2 separate regions of the Homo sapiens genome follow, and region 2 is linked to region 1. Evidence: promoter capture Hi-C in 16 types of primary human blood cells and fetal thymus (Javierre and others, 2016). All regions are on one chromosome and are shown on one strand. The core of a region is centred on a gene start or on the middle of the fragment in contact, and the rest is flanking DNA. Distances in the headings are between cores, read along the strand shown. Region 1 holds the start of ITPR2-AS2 (ITPR2 antisense RNA 2). Region 2 overlaps LOC105369705 (a long non-coding RNA gene).

Region 1 (6,420 bases), core at 1,632-4,131:
CAGCAGCTTTGCCACGCTGTGGTGGGCTCCGCCCAGTCCAAACTTCCTGGCGGCTTTGTTTGAGTAGGGGAAAACCAGCTACTCAAGCCTCAGTAATGGTGGACATCCCTCCCCCAACCAAGCTCGAGCGTCTCAAGCTGACTTCAGACTGCTGTGCTGGCAGCAACAATTTCAAGCTGGTGGATCTTAGCTTGCTGGGCTCCGTGGTGGTGGGACCTACTGAGCAAGACCACTTGGCTCCCTGGCTTCAGCCCTCTTTCCAGGGGAGTGAATGGTTGTCTCACTGGGCTTCCAAGTACCACTGGGGTACAAAAAAAAACCTCCTGCAGCTAGCTTGATGTCTGCCCAAATGGCCACCCAGTTTTGTGCTTGAAACCTAGGGCCCTGGTGGCAAAGGCACTGGAGGGAATCTCGTGGTCTGCAGGTTGGGAAGACCATGGGAAAAGCGAAGTATCCGGGCCAGAGTGCACACTTCCTCACGGCACAGTCCCTCATGGCTTCCCTTAGCTAGGGGAGGGAGTTCCCTGACCCTCTGTGCTTCCCAGGTGAGGCGACGCCCCACCCTGCTTTGGCTTGCCCTCTGTGGGCTGCACCCACTGTCTAACCAGTCCCAGCAAGATGAACTGGGTACCTCAGTTGTAAATGCAGAAATCACCCACCCTCTGCGTTGGTCTACCTGGGAGCTGCAGACCAGAGCTGTTCCTATTTGGCCATGTTGCCCCCTCCTCCTCACTGTTATTTTTAATAATGAAAAAACAGAAATTGGCTGGGTGGTGGCTCCTGCCTGTAATCCCAACACTCTGGGAGGCTGAGGCCGGTGGATTGCTTGAGGTCAGGAGTTTGAGACCAGACTGGGCAACATAGTGAAACTCCATCTCTACTGAAAATACAAAAATTTGCTGGGGGCAGTAGTGCACCTATAGTCCTAGCTACTTGGGAGGCTGAGGTGCGAGAATTGCTTGAGCCTGGGAGGTCAAGATTTCAGTGAGCTGAGATCATGCCACTGTACTCCATCCTGGGCAACAGAGTGAGACCCTGTCTCAAAAACAACAACAAATAATCCAGCCATTACCTAAATGCCAAGAAATAAAAGACTGATGTATAAAAACAGGGGCCTTTGGTGTGATGGATGCATTAGCATTTACAACTGAGTTTCCTGCTCTAGCCTAACCTGCCCTGCAGACCCCTGTAAGGCCTCCCCAAGTATTTCTGGACTTCCTCTAAGTTCTCCCACAGGAACTCATAAGTCAGACTATTAGATATAATCACATGTGGAATTTGCCTTATTCTTTCTCTTTCTCCCCCTCTCCCTCCTCAGCATCCTCTACTCACAACACCTTCTGAAGGAGCCTCAGTCCTGCCATGACTGGCAGAACCTATCACGAGCATCGCCGGCATCCATGCCAACAGCTCACCTGCAAGGCTTTCAACTCTGCTGACCTTCAGAGTGTCAGAGCAGTGCCGAAGCCCAGGACATGGCTGTCATCCCTTATTCCTCCTAGCTCAAATCACCCTCAATATCCTGATAGGAACCAAATACCAGGCCATCCCGCCATTTCAGTCTCTGTCCCAAGGACTCCTCATTAAATTCCATCATCATCCTTCAGCTAACAACCAAAAGCCTTCCTGAAACACAGCCTCATGCAAATAGGTACTGAGAAAACTTCCTAGCCCCTAGTTCTGCAAACACTCACCTACGCAGTTTAGAATCAGCTAGGTTACGTGCCTGTGCATTTATATATGCAGATAAATAATACAGCAGCTATACTACAAGTAGGTGTCTCTTCAGCCTGTTTACTTTAATTTTTACATATTAGGCTCATCTCTGAATGCCCAAAAGAGGATGTAACTGATATATTCTCCTGGCAAAAGAGTCAGGAGTCATTTCCCAGCTGAGGGGATGGGTTGATGCTCTTCCATTTTCTCTTAACCCTGTGCAAATGGTGCTGGGCCATAAGAGGACATCTGGGATTCAACTCCCACTGTGTATGGCTAAGAATCAGAACAAAGTATGATGTCCACAGAGGACCTTGAGCTCACAGGCTCCATTCCAGAGAGTAATACAGGGATAGTAAACCACTGGAAGCAAAGACTCCCTGTGGAATAGCTGCAGTCATCCCCCATGCTGGCCCAGCCACCTGAGAAGAGACAGTCTTGTTAGGTTGACTTAACTATTGGTCACCTGAATTTAATTTGGCTTACTGAATTATGGATGAAGGAGACAATAATCCCCAAGAGTTGGCCAATCTTTGTCATCAGGGGTTTTCTTATGTTGGTGAGAGTGTTCTAGTACCTTAATAGGCAGCTTGAGTTTGATGCATGAGTCATAATGAATCAGATGTACCAGAGTTGTTGTTTTGATTCAGCTCAGCAGTTATGTCTTTGAATCTGAGTCTCAGATGGGCACCTGAATAGACTCATCACAAAGCTTCATTGCAAATTATACAGTGCAGGGAAGCTCAACAAATTATTCTGATTGTTTCCAGAAAGAAAAAGGAAGGCAGGATTATACAGCATTTAGTGTCACCAATTAACAAGGTCATGGGGCTGAACCACTCATTCCAAAAACTTAATATCTACAAACTCAAGCACAAGGAGCCTCTTTTAATTATTTGGAAACTGTGGGCTGCAGGGAAAGCGAGTGCTCTCAGCCTTGTGATCTGAGCAAGGTTCAGGAGCTGGAGTGGGTTTGGCTGAGTCACCACTGGCTGCATGACCCCACACACATCACCTGACCTCCACATGCTTCAGCTGGCCCGGCTGTAGAGATGAGAAAATGCAGCCGGAAGGCCCCAAGGGGCAAAAACAGCCTTCTGCACACAGCTGCCCTGGGGCAGCTTCCTGCGGCACAGTTTAGCTCTATCAGAGGCAGGGGGACCCTAGTCTGGGCCACCAAAGCAGCCTTACCTAAAAGCCACCTTTGGGAAAGGGCCTGTTTCATGCCGCAAGTGTAGGAGTATAAGTAAGTAAAACCTTTTTTAAGCCTTGAAAATACTCATATGTTTTGGTTGCATGATTTCATTTGAATGAATTTATTCTTAGTCAGGAATCAGAGGCGTACACAAATATGTATGTTCAATCATGCTCATCATAGTGTTAACTTTAGTAACGAAAAACTGAAAATTATCTAAATGTTCAACTGTAAAGCATTGTACAACAAACTATGGTACATTTTTATTTTGGAAGGTTGTATGGCCATTAAAAAATCACTAGAACAGAATAATCAATGACCTGGGAAAATGTCCACCGTAGGATAGTATATAGAGAAGGACCGTAAAACAACATTGTTAGAATAATCCAATTTGTTTTACACTATATGTACTCCCAGGTGGATAGACAAAAGCCTGGAAGGTGAGACAAGAAATTATTAATGATGTTTAATCTCTGCGTTTGGGGATTATCAGCTCTTTTTAAAATTTATGGTGCTTGCCTGTATGTTCCAATATTTTCTATCACAATGGTCATGTGTTCTTTTTGCCATAAAAATCAATTTTGAAATTCCCCGAGTTGCTGTTAACTTGGCCTGTCTGTTGCATATGGGGCCAAACTACACGCCTACCTGTGGAGCAAATGAATACAGTGACTCATCTGTGAGCTGAGGCTTGAGCAATTCCAGCCCAGGAGGCTCTCCGGCCTGGGAACAGAGTGGGATTTTTTGTCTGAGGAGGCTGAGTCTGGAAGAAGGATGACTCTGTGGGTGGTTTCCTAGATCCTCAATGCACGTGGCTTCCGGCCTTGACTCCTCCCTTAAATTCTGGGTTGCTGGCCAAGGCTGAAGAACAAATTTGCCTCAGCAGCCAACTCCTCTATGTAAGCCTGACATTTACTCTGTATCTACATAATATCTATTAAGCAACACCTGATCCTGTTCACCAGGATGTATGTTCCCAGGGAAACCTTCCTTTCAAAGTTAAGCAGGCATTCTTGGTAAGTAGCCCTAACACCTGGGAATCATGCAGTTAACTTTCCAGGCCTCAATCCTACATGAGTGTCCTGGGTTATAATAGCATGGCTGGATGGGTGGTGATCTCACCATTTTAGCCAGTGGCTCATCCTGCATGGGAAGAAAAGTTTTAAAATGGCACAGCTTCCTTTGAGAAGAGAGCCATCTGCTCCATAATATATGGGGAAGGAAAATGGTGCTTTATGAGACAATCAGAGCAAATTGGTACATCATCATGGAGCTTTCAAGGTGATATTTTCTAAAACAACATAGCCATTTTTTATTCCTCTTACCAAAGCCAAGGGGCAGTCGATAATCTCAACATTTCTGCTCTCTGCTTCAGGTGTAGGCTGTCATTGGCTTGCTTAGGTCAATAGTGGACACCAGCCTTCCCTGAGCTGACTTATTGAAGATGGCCCAAGGGCCTGGCAGGCAGTCTGAAGTACAATCTAACATTGTAACAGATAAGTCCCAGTGTGAAAGAGAGTCATATTATCTCCATTTCACACAGAAGAAACCAAAGTATGAATCCTCATCAAAATACATTTTATTGAGCACATACTTTGTGTCTGGTAACGTTTCAGGCACTGGGAAAACAGCAGTGAACAAAATAGATCAAGTCTTTGCCCTCAAAAAGTTTACATTCTTTTGAGAGTAAACAATAAGCAGAGTTTTAATATACTGGGTGATAATCAATATGAAGAAAAGTAAGGCTGAGTAAGAGGATAGAGAATAAAGGAAGTGCAATTCTATATAGAGTAACTAGGGGAGTTTTTTCTGATAAACTGATGTTTGAGCAGAGACAAAAAGGCAGGGAGGAAGTGAGCCACTTGCATCCTTGCAGGACAAATGTTTGAAATAGAGAAAAGAAGGCTGGGTGCGATGGCTCACACCTGTAATCCCAGCATTTTGGGAGGCCAAAGCAGGCAGATCACCTGAAGTCAAGAGTTGGAGATCAGCCTGGCCAACATGGAGAAAGCCTGTTTCTACTAAAAATACAAAAACTAGCTGGGTGTAGTGGCATGCGCCTGTAATCCCAGCTACTCGGGAAGCTGAGGCAGGAGAATCGCTGGAACCCAGGAAGCGGAGGTTGCAGTGAGCCAAGATCATGCCACTGCACTCCAGCCTGCAAAACAGAGTGAGACTCTGTCTCAAAAAATATATATATTAAAAAAAAAGAAAAAGAAAAGAAAAAACAGAAAAAGTGACACAGAGAAAAGAGCAAATGCAAGGCCTTGAGGTGAGAGCACGTCATGATATATTAGAGAATCAGCAAAGATGACACTGTGGCTTCAGATAAGACTCTCATCTTTGAAGGGTTCTCAGCAGAGGAGGGACACGATCTGCCTTATGTGTGCTGGGAGCGGGCACGGTCACAGATGAGAGGAGGGTAACCAGCTAGGACGCAATTGCCATAATCAAGGCAATCATGGTTGGGACCAGGCTTGAAATAATGAAGGTGTAGGAAGTGGAGCAATTTCAAAGGAAGACTTGGGTGCCATTTTAAAGAGCAAGGTCACTAACAAAAAGCACAAAAGTGTAAAAAAGTGGCATTAAATAGATAATGAAAAGGATGCTTATTTGCATCATGAGAGTTGAAACAAGAAGGTAGAATGTCTTGTCTCATCCCAGCTGGAACGTACATGTCGGGTGACTCAAAATTTTTATAGGCCTGCACGTGACTGCAATGATTATGAAAGTGCCATGAGTACTGATCTTGGGGTCACAAATAGAGTTTAGTGAATAAGAAAATTTGCAAATATGGAATTTATGAATAATGAGGACTGAACTGTCTGAAGGGTGAGAGGCCTATTATTCATGTAAGTGGAGATATGATAAATGAGAAGAAAGTTGGAGGTAGAGGCACAGATCTGGGAGTTATTGCAATGTATCTAAATCTCTATATCCTGCATGAAACTGGATGAAACCATCTTAGGAGTGTAGAAAAGTAATAGGAGAGTTCCAGAAACTGGATCCAGGGGCATTACAGCAAGAAGGTGCCTGCAAAGGATGCTGAGAAAGAGCAAATAGTAGAGTAAGAAAAAAACCAGGAAAGAGTCGTGTTTTAAGAATGATGAAGGGAGTCAGGAATGGGTCAATGCTGCTGAAAAGTCGAGTCTCATGAGATGTAAGAATGAACCTTTAGATTAGGCAAGATGAAGGGCACAGGTGATTTGGATGAATAGTTTCATTTGAACACTGGAGGTAAAAGCCTGAGTGGATCAAAGAGCAAATGCACAATTCTTTCCATGAGTTTCTTTTATTGTTTCAAAAATGCAGTTTATCGGGCCAGGTGCAGTGGCTCATGCCTGTAACCCCAGCACTTTGGGAGGTTGAGATGGGGGATCACATGAGGTCAGGAGTTCGAGAGCAGCCTGGCCAACATGGTGAAACAAACCCCATCTCTACTAATAATACAAAAATTAGCTGGGTGTGGTGGTGGGTGCCTATAATGCCAGCAACTCAGGAGGCTGAGG
Region 2 (6,420 bases), core at 982-3,481, 41 kb before region 1:
TGAGGGGCGGGAGAAAGGGCACGTTTATATCAACTGAGAAGTCAAAAGGTTTGGTTTTAGCCAGAAAGGGAAAAAAAAGACACATTATTGCTCACATTCTGAGGTCAAACAAACAAACAAAACCCCTGAGAAAACAATATGAAGCCCTGTAAGAAAAGGCTTAATGGACCAGAAATTATTTGTTCCTCTTCATGTTTCTGAGAAATGTGGTTCAAACTTTATAGACTTTCCACATCAGCAAACAATTAATCATGGCTTGCACTCCCACCCCACCATGCTTTTCAACATACCTAGCAAGAAGCCACAGGCCATTTCTTGTCTTTCTGTAGCAAATCACAGACCAGATCTGGGTGCATAAGCGAGGTTTCCTATGGAGTTGGTGGGTTATTCTATGGTGGGTGCTGCAGGAAGTTCAGGGCAGCTTGCCTAATGCACAAGGAAGGGAACATTTCCTTCCCTGTGCAAGGCTTCAGGAGACTGACCCCTGCCTATGACAGCATAACACAAAGCTCAAGGTCAAACTGCCTGGGTTTGAATCCCAGCTCTGCTACGGGCCACCAGCTATGTGAGTCTGGCACACAACTGATTTCTCTGCTTGGATCCCTCATCTGTAAAATGAAGGCAACAAAAGCTGCTACCTCGTAGGGTGGTTGTGAAGACTAAAGTAAAACTTGTAAAGCATTTTGAGTGTTTTTCTTTTTCTCCATCATTATCTTTTAAGGTTAGCCTAATGTTCATCTCTAGTGACTTCTATCTAAAAATTTGTTAGTGAGACAGAATAGCATAAACAGGTCTTATGGCCAAGCAGATATGGCCTTTTTACAACTAGTAAAATTTTTCTTTAGAATTTTCATTTGCAAAATGGAGAAAATATAAATTTATAGTAAGGATTCGATAAAGTATATAAAGTCGTTTAGCTTAGAAAGTGCTCAATAAGCGGTACTTTGGTTATAATTCTCAATAGACCTGAATCTCTGCTCAAATAAGTTCCGTATTTCATTATCCCATGTAGCAAGATGAAATCCCAACACCCAGATCACAGACATCCCTTTAGAGTATTTCTACACATATTTATAATATAAAATTTCAGAGAGGAAGGACATTCATAAAATTCTAATTTAAAACAAAATCCTTAAGGCATCTAATTCTTAAGGCAAAACATTTTGTTGTTTGGTTGAGAAAAGGAAGGAGGAAAGATGAGGCAATTCTTTAGATTCTTTAAAGAAGGGCTCTTTCAGCTTGAGTTATATTGATTGACTTCCTGGCTTGAATCACTTCATGGTATTTTGTTCAACTCAGCTGACCATAGGAAGCAGATGACATACCTCCTCTGAGACTGGCTCTTTAGCACCAGATGGACAAGATAAGTGCTATAAGATGAGGGGCAGCCACATGGCTGACATCGTCATCGTCATCATCATCATCATCATCATCATATCATCCCATGTAGTGTCCACATGTAGGGAGGAGCACTTCTTGTGTGTTGAGCACAGCACTAAAGGACTTTACATATTAACTCAGTTTTATCCTTACAACAACCTTGTTGGCTTAATATTATTATCTCTATCTTTTTTATTTTTATTTATTTATTTATCTATTTAGAGACAGGGTCTCATTCTGTCACCCAGGCTGGAGTGCACTGGCATGATCATAGCTCACTGTAGCCTTGAACTCCTTGGCTCAAGCAATCCACCTGCCTCATTCTCCTGAGCTAGGACAATAGGCATGTGCCACCACATCTGGCTCTTTTTTGTTGTTGAGAAGGGCAGTGGGGGGTTCTTGCTATGTTGCCCAGGCTTGTCTCAAACTCCTGGCCTTAAGTTATCCTCCTGCATCGGCCTCCCAAAGTGCTGGGATTACAGGTGTGAGCCACCGCACCCAGGCTGTTTCCATCCTAAGAATGAGAAAATCATGTTCTTTAGAGTCTTTCAATCTGTTCATGGTTCTGCCGCTAAGTGGTACAGCAGGGGTGAGAATCCAGGATCCCAATCATGGAAGCTTTTTCCATTAGGCTTTATGGCCACTGCTGCTGAGGGTGGGGCCTTCCCGGAAGCCACTCTCACCCATGCCATTGTGGTTTATAAATCATGCTAAATGTCCCTGCTAAGCAGCCCAAGCTGACCTGCTGGGCTAGTGGCCCTGTCCCGGGAGCGCTCACAGGCAGTGTTGGGAGAGACTGCAACCATTGCTGACAGGCCGGAAGAGGCATTGCCATCCTCAGACTCTTGGTGCAACTGAGATGAACTTGACAGAAATGATTTGGTTCCACAGGAAAATATAATTCCCCCTAAGTTATTTTGTGGAGTCAGCGGTAAGGGAGGCAGGGGCGTCCCCAGTGTCTTGGTGCAGATATTGGTGCCCCCTGAGAGGGCAGACCTGATGGCCCGGACAAGTTTCCTTTCTTGAAACAACGTTAATTTGTCCAGTTTTGTGGCTTTTTTATGTGGAACAACATTAGCTCATCCAAGCTTGTGGTTTATTTGAAAACGAAATTCCGGTAAATCTTTCGCACCATCTGGCAGTGTGGTGATTGGCCGCGAGTTAGGAACAAGCCACTGAGCACACAAGAAAACAAAGCAGTGAAAACCCACCACCCCAAACAGAAAGGCTTTCTGTAAATTTTGTGCCTCAGCAACCCCACGGGGCTCTCTGAGGACGGGTCTCCCTGTGAGCAGAGCTGTAACCTGTCACTCTTGGGTGGGAATCTGTTTCCTTCAATAGCTAAGGCCTAGTGGAATTTCTTAGGGTAAGCTTTAGCCAGGGTCTTACATTCTTTCTTTAGACACAGATTAGCAAGGACCCTCTGAGGGCACATTCAGAGGATCTAGAAACCAACATGAGTGATCAGGAGAAAAGGGAAATTGAAACATCAGTGGTTGACTCTGGTGTGTGGAAAAATGAGTGGGCCTGAGTCCCCGAGGGACATAGAAGATGGCATTCTCACTTATCTGTCTGCCACACCCAAAAATCCTTCCCTGGTATTCATTGCACACATAATAAATGTTTATCCAGTGCCAGCTACATGCCTTGCACTGCTTTGGGCACAGGGGAGAGAACTATGAACAAGACAGTCAGAGCCCTTGCCTTTAAAGAGCTTATATCCTAATAGCATAGGCAATTTAAAACACATGATTTGAAATACTAATTTTGGCTGGGCACAATGGCTCATGCCTGTAATCCCAGCATTTTGAGAGGCTGAAGTGAGAGGATCGCTTGAGCTCAGGAGTTTGAGACCAGCCTGGGCAACAGAGTGGAACATTGTCTCTACAAAAAATGAAAAATTAGCTGGGCGTGGTGCCATGCACCTGTGATCCCAGCTACTCGGAAGGCTGAGGTGGGAGGATTGCCTGAAGCCAAGAATTTGAAGCCGTGATTATGCCACTGCACTCTAGCCTGGGTGACAGAGTGAGGTTCTGTCTCAAAAAAAAAACAAAAAACAAAACAATGTAATAATTTCAAATACGTTAAGTGCTATGCTGGGGACACACAAGGGGCTGAGGAGAATGAATGCAGGGAATGAGTGATCTTTAGCTAGATGGCTCAGGGAAGGCTCTTGGAGTCAGTGTTTCAGCAAAGAACCCATGTGAGATGCTGGTGACTGTGCAAGGTGTGGAAAGGCCTCTGTGCTGCAGGAACTGAAGGGCCAGCCTGAAGAGGTATGCAGAAGAAGGAAGAGTGCATGACAGGAGGAGGGGGAGGCAGGCAAGGGCCATGCTCACAAGGCTGTGAGAAGTCATTTCTCCCTTTCATGCAGGGGAAGGGCATGATCCAGCTCACATGAACAGAAAAGCACTTTGCCACTATGAGGAGGATGGATTGTAGGAGGCCAATAGTGGAAGCAGAGCAACCACTGAATAGGTTATCTCAGTTGTCCAGGCAAGAGACAATGGTGGCTTGAGTCAAAGGGATAGCAGCAGAGAGGGAGAGAAAAGACATTTGAGCTTGAATCAGGAGAATTTGCTGATGGGTTTGATATCAGGGAGTAAAGGAAGGGTTCCAATAAGTATGAAGCTGGTATTTGAAACCATGAGAACTGATGAGCTGACCTAGCTGATGGGAAGAGAAAAGCATTCCAGAAAAGAAATATGTGGGGTTTCTCACCCTGTGACCTGCATGGGCATCTGGGCAGGAGTACACACAGAGGCTGTAACCCACATCATGGGGGCCTCATGCACAGATGTTGGACACTTCAGCCCACTGGTACACAGCCCCCAACCCCTACCACCTGCCTCTCACAAAGCACTCATTGGCTATTACCCCAGGACGAACATGGGAAAAGGCATCAGGCAAGTCCTAGAATTTGGCCTTGAGCTTTTTGGGTGGAAATTACAGGGCCCCAGGACTCCAAAGAGTGGTCTAGAAGAGAGAGTGTGTAGACTGGGCAAGCGTGCCCCTCAAACCTGTGGGCTCCTCACTCATCTGGCTAGGATCAGAGCAGGCCAGGTCAGGGCAGAAACCTCCAAAGCATGAGACACGGGGCAGGGCCCTGGCTGCCAGATCTAAGGGAGGTACTGCGCTGGTTGTAGTTATCAGAGTAATCAAGGCCATTTCTCCAGGAAGCTGAGGTACAGGCCCTAGGAAGGGAGTGTGTGTAACTCGCCCTGCCAATCCCTAGACTACTGCTACAGATTACCCAAAGAACTAAGCGTAGAACTACATTTGATCCAGAAATCCCACTACTGGGTATCTACTTCTTGTCTTGAAAAAGAAATAATTATACCAGAAAGATGGCTGCACTCGTGTGTTTATCATAGCACTATTCTCAATAGCAAAGTCATGAAATCAACCTAAATGTCCATCAATGGATGACCAGATAAAGAAAATATGGCATATATACACAATGGCATACTATTAAACCATAAAGAGAATAAAATCATGTCTTTTGCAAAAACATGGATGGAACTGGAGGTCATTATTTTAAGTGAAACAGCTCATAAACAGGGTGACAAATACTACATGTTCTCATTTATGAGTGGGAGCTAAATAATGTGTACACAGGGATGTAGGGTGTAGAAGGATAGACACTGGAGACTTGGAAGGATAAGGGAGGGAGGTGAACGATGAGATATTCCTTAATGGATACAATGTATGTTATTCAGGTGATGGATATACTAAAAGCCCTGACTTTCCCATTACTCAATATATTCATGTAACAAAATTACACTTGTACCCCATGCATTTATACCGAAAAAAAAGATCCCTTACTACTTCTACAGTTTCTAATACATGGTCCCGCACCTAACTCCACCCTGACCATGTATGTCATAATGGGAGTTGGCACCCTTGCTGCACTTGCCAAAACTTATACTGGTGGGAAGAAGAAAAAATCTGAGATACAGACTTAGGTGAGATGAAAACCCCAGTTGCAGAGGCTACTTCAGCCAGGTTAGCCAGAAGATCTGAGGACAGGTTCCAATGGGCATCTGATGTGTGTTCGAACATCAGGTGTGGTTTTCATAGGTGCTGGGGAGAGGCCACCCCCCAGGCTGTGGTCAAGATGGGAATTCCAGACATGAGTGGTGTGCAGGGAAGTGTAGAGAAGCATAGCTTCTGTTGGTCTGTTCGTTCAAGGCTTGGATCCAGCCAGGTACTGACCAGCTGAAGCACAGGATCCGTCCAGTGCCCTGTGACCCCAAAGGTTGGGAGTTAGCAAGAGTTGGTTAAGGAACTTGAGGCTCAGGGCTGCCTTCCCATATTAGTGAATTACAAGAGTGCTAGGTAAGACAATTCATATTCATTTCCTGAAGTTGGTCAGTATTTTGGGATGGTGAGGGTACTGAGGCTGAGATACATTTGAGCATTCACAGTGCATCGTTCACATCTCCACTCTTGGGACTGCTGACCTTGAGTTAATTTCCTGCTCTATAGTACACGGCTAAGTTGCTTGCCTTTGACATGGTTGGCTCAAGCTGAGGCAGGGCTGGAGGCGAAGCCCATCAGCATTCCCTTTTCAAAGTCTCAAGGACTGGCTGCCCTCCCATAAATTCCAGGACTGGTGACCAGACCTTATTCGCTGTCCAAATGATGAAATCCTTAGCTTTCTTCATCTACAGAGCAAATTCACAACAGGCAGATGTCACATACAATAGGACTATAAAAATAATACAGCTGCATGACACTTTCTAATTTGTTCCTTTTTGTCTTCATGGCAGCCCCGGTACCCGTGTAGTCAAAGAGAGGTAGGACTGTGAGGAAAAGGTACTGCGAGCCAGGAACGACATGTCTCATTCCAAACCTTGGTTGTGGCATATTTTGTGGCCTTGGGCAAGTCACCCAATCTGTCTGCTCCTTCTTTCCAAAATGTGAAACAAACTGAAAAGGGGCTGGGAGAATGCATTAGTTTGGTGGAAGGGTCTGGGCCACTTGTTTCCATCAGTGCAATAATGACCTCTTTCTATTTACAAGAATGGCTGCTCTCCT

Evidence for each region. The method cuts DNA at HindIII sites, captures the fragments that hold promoters and counts their contacts. A CHiCAGO score of 5 or more calls a contact.
Region 2: a fragment that was not itself captured here is called in contact with the fragment with the promoter of ITPR2-AS2 in region 1 in 1 of 17 cell types (M2 macrophages); the score reaches 5.5 in M2 macrophages.

The regions. Positions count from the first base shown.
Region 1 is chr12:26,316,043-26,322,462 of GRCh38, forward strand. It overlaps ITPR2-AS2 (ITPR2 antisense RNA 2), which reads left to right and starts at 2,882. Exons shown (of 6, transcript NR_199072.1): 1 at 2,882-2,962. RefSeq lists an enhancer at 2,575-2,624. The HindIII fragment of the contact is 7,262 bases long and covers 2,427-6,420 here.
Region 2 is chr12:26,275,569-26,281,988 of GRCh38, forward strand. The region is part of intron 1 of LOC105369705 (a long non-coding RNA gene); the gene reads left to right. LOC105369704 (a long non-coding RNA gene) reads right to left here and starts at 487. Exons shown (of 2, transcript NR_188068.1): 1 at 291-487. The HindIII fragment of the contact is 470 bases long and covers 1,997-2,466 here.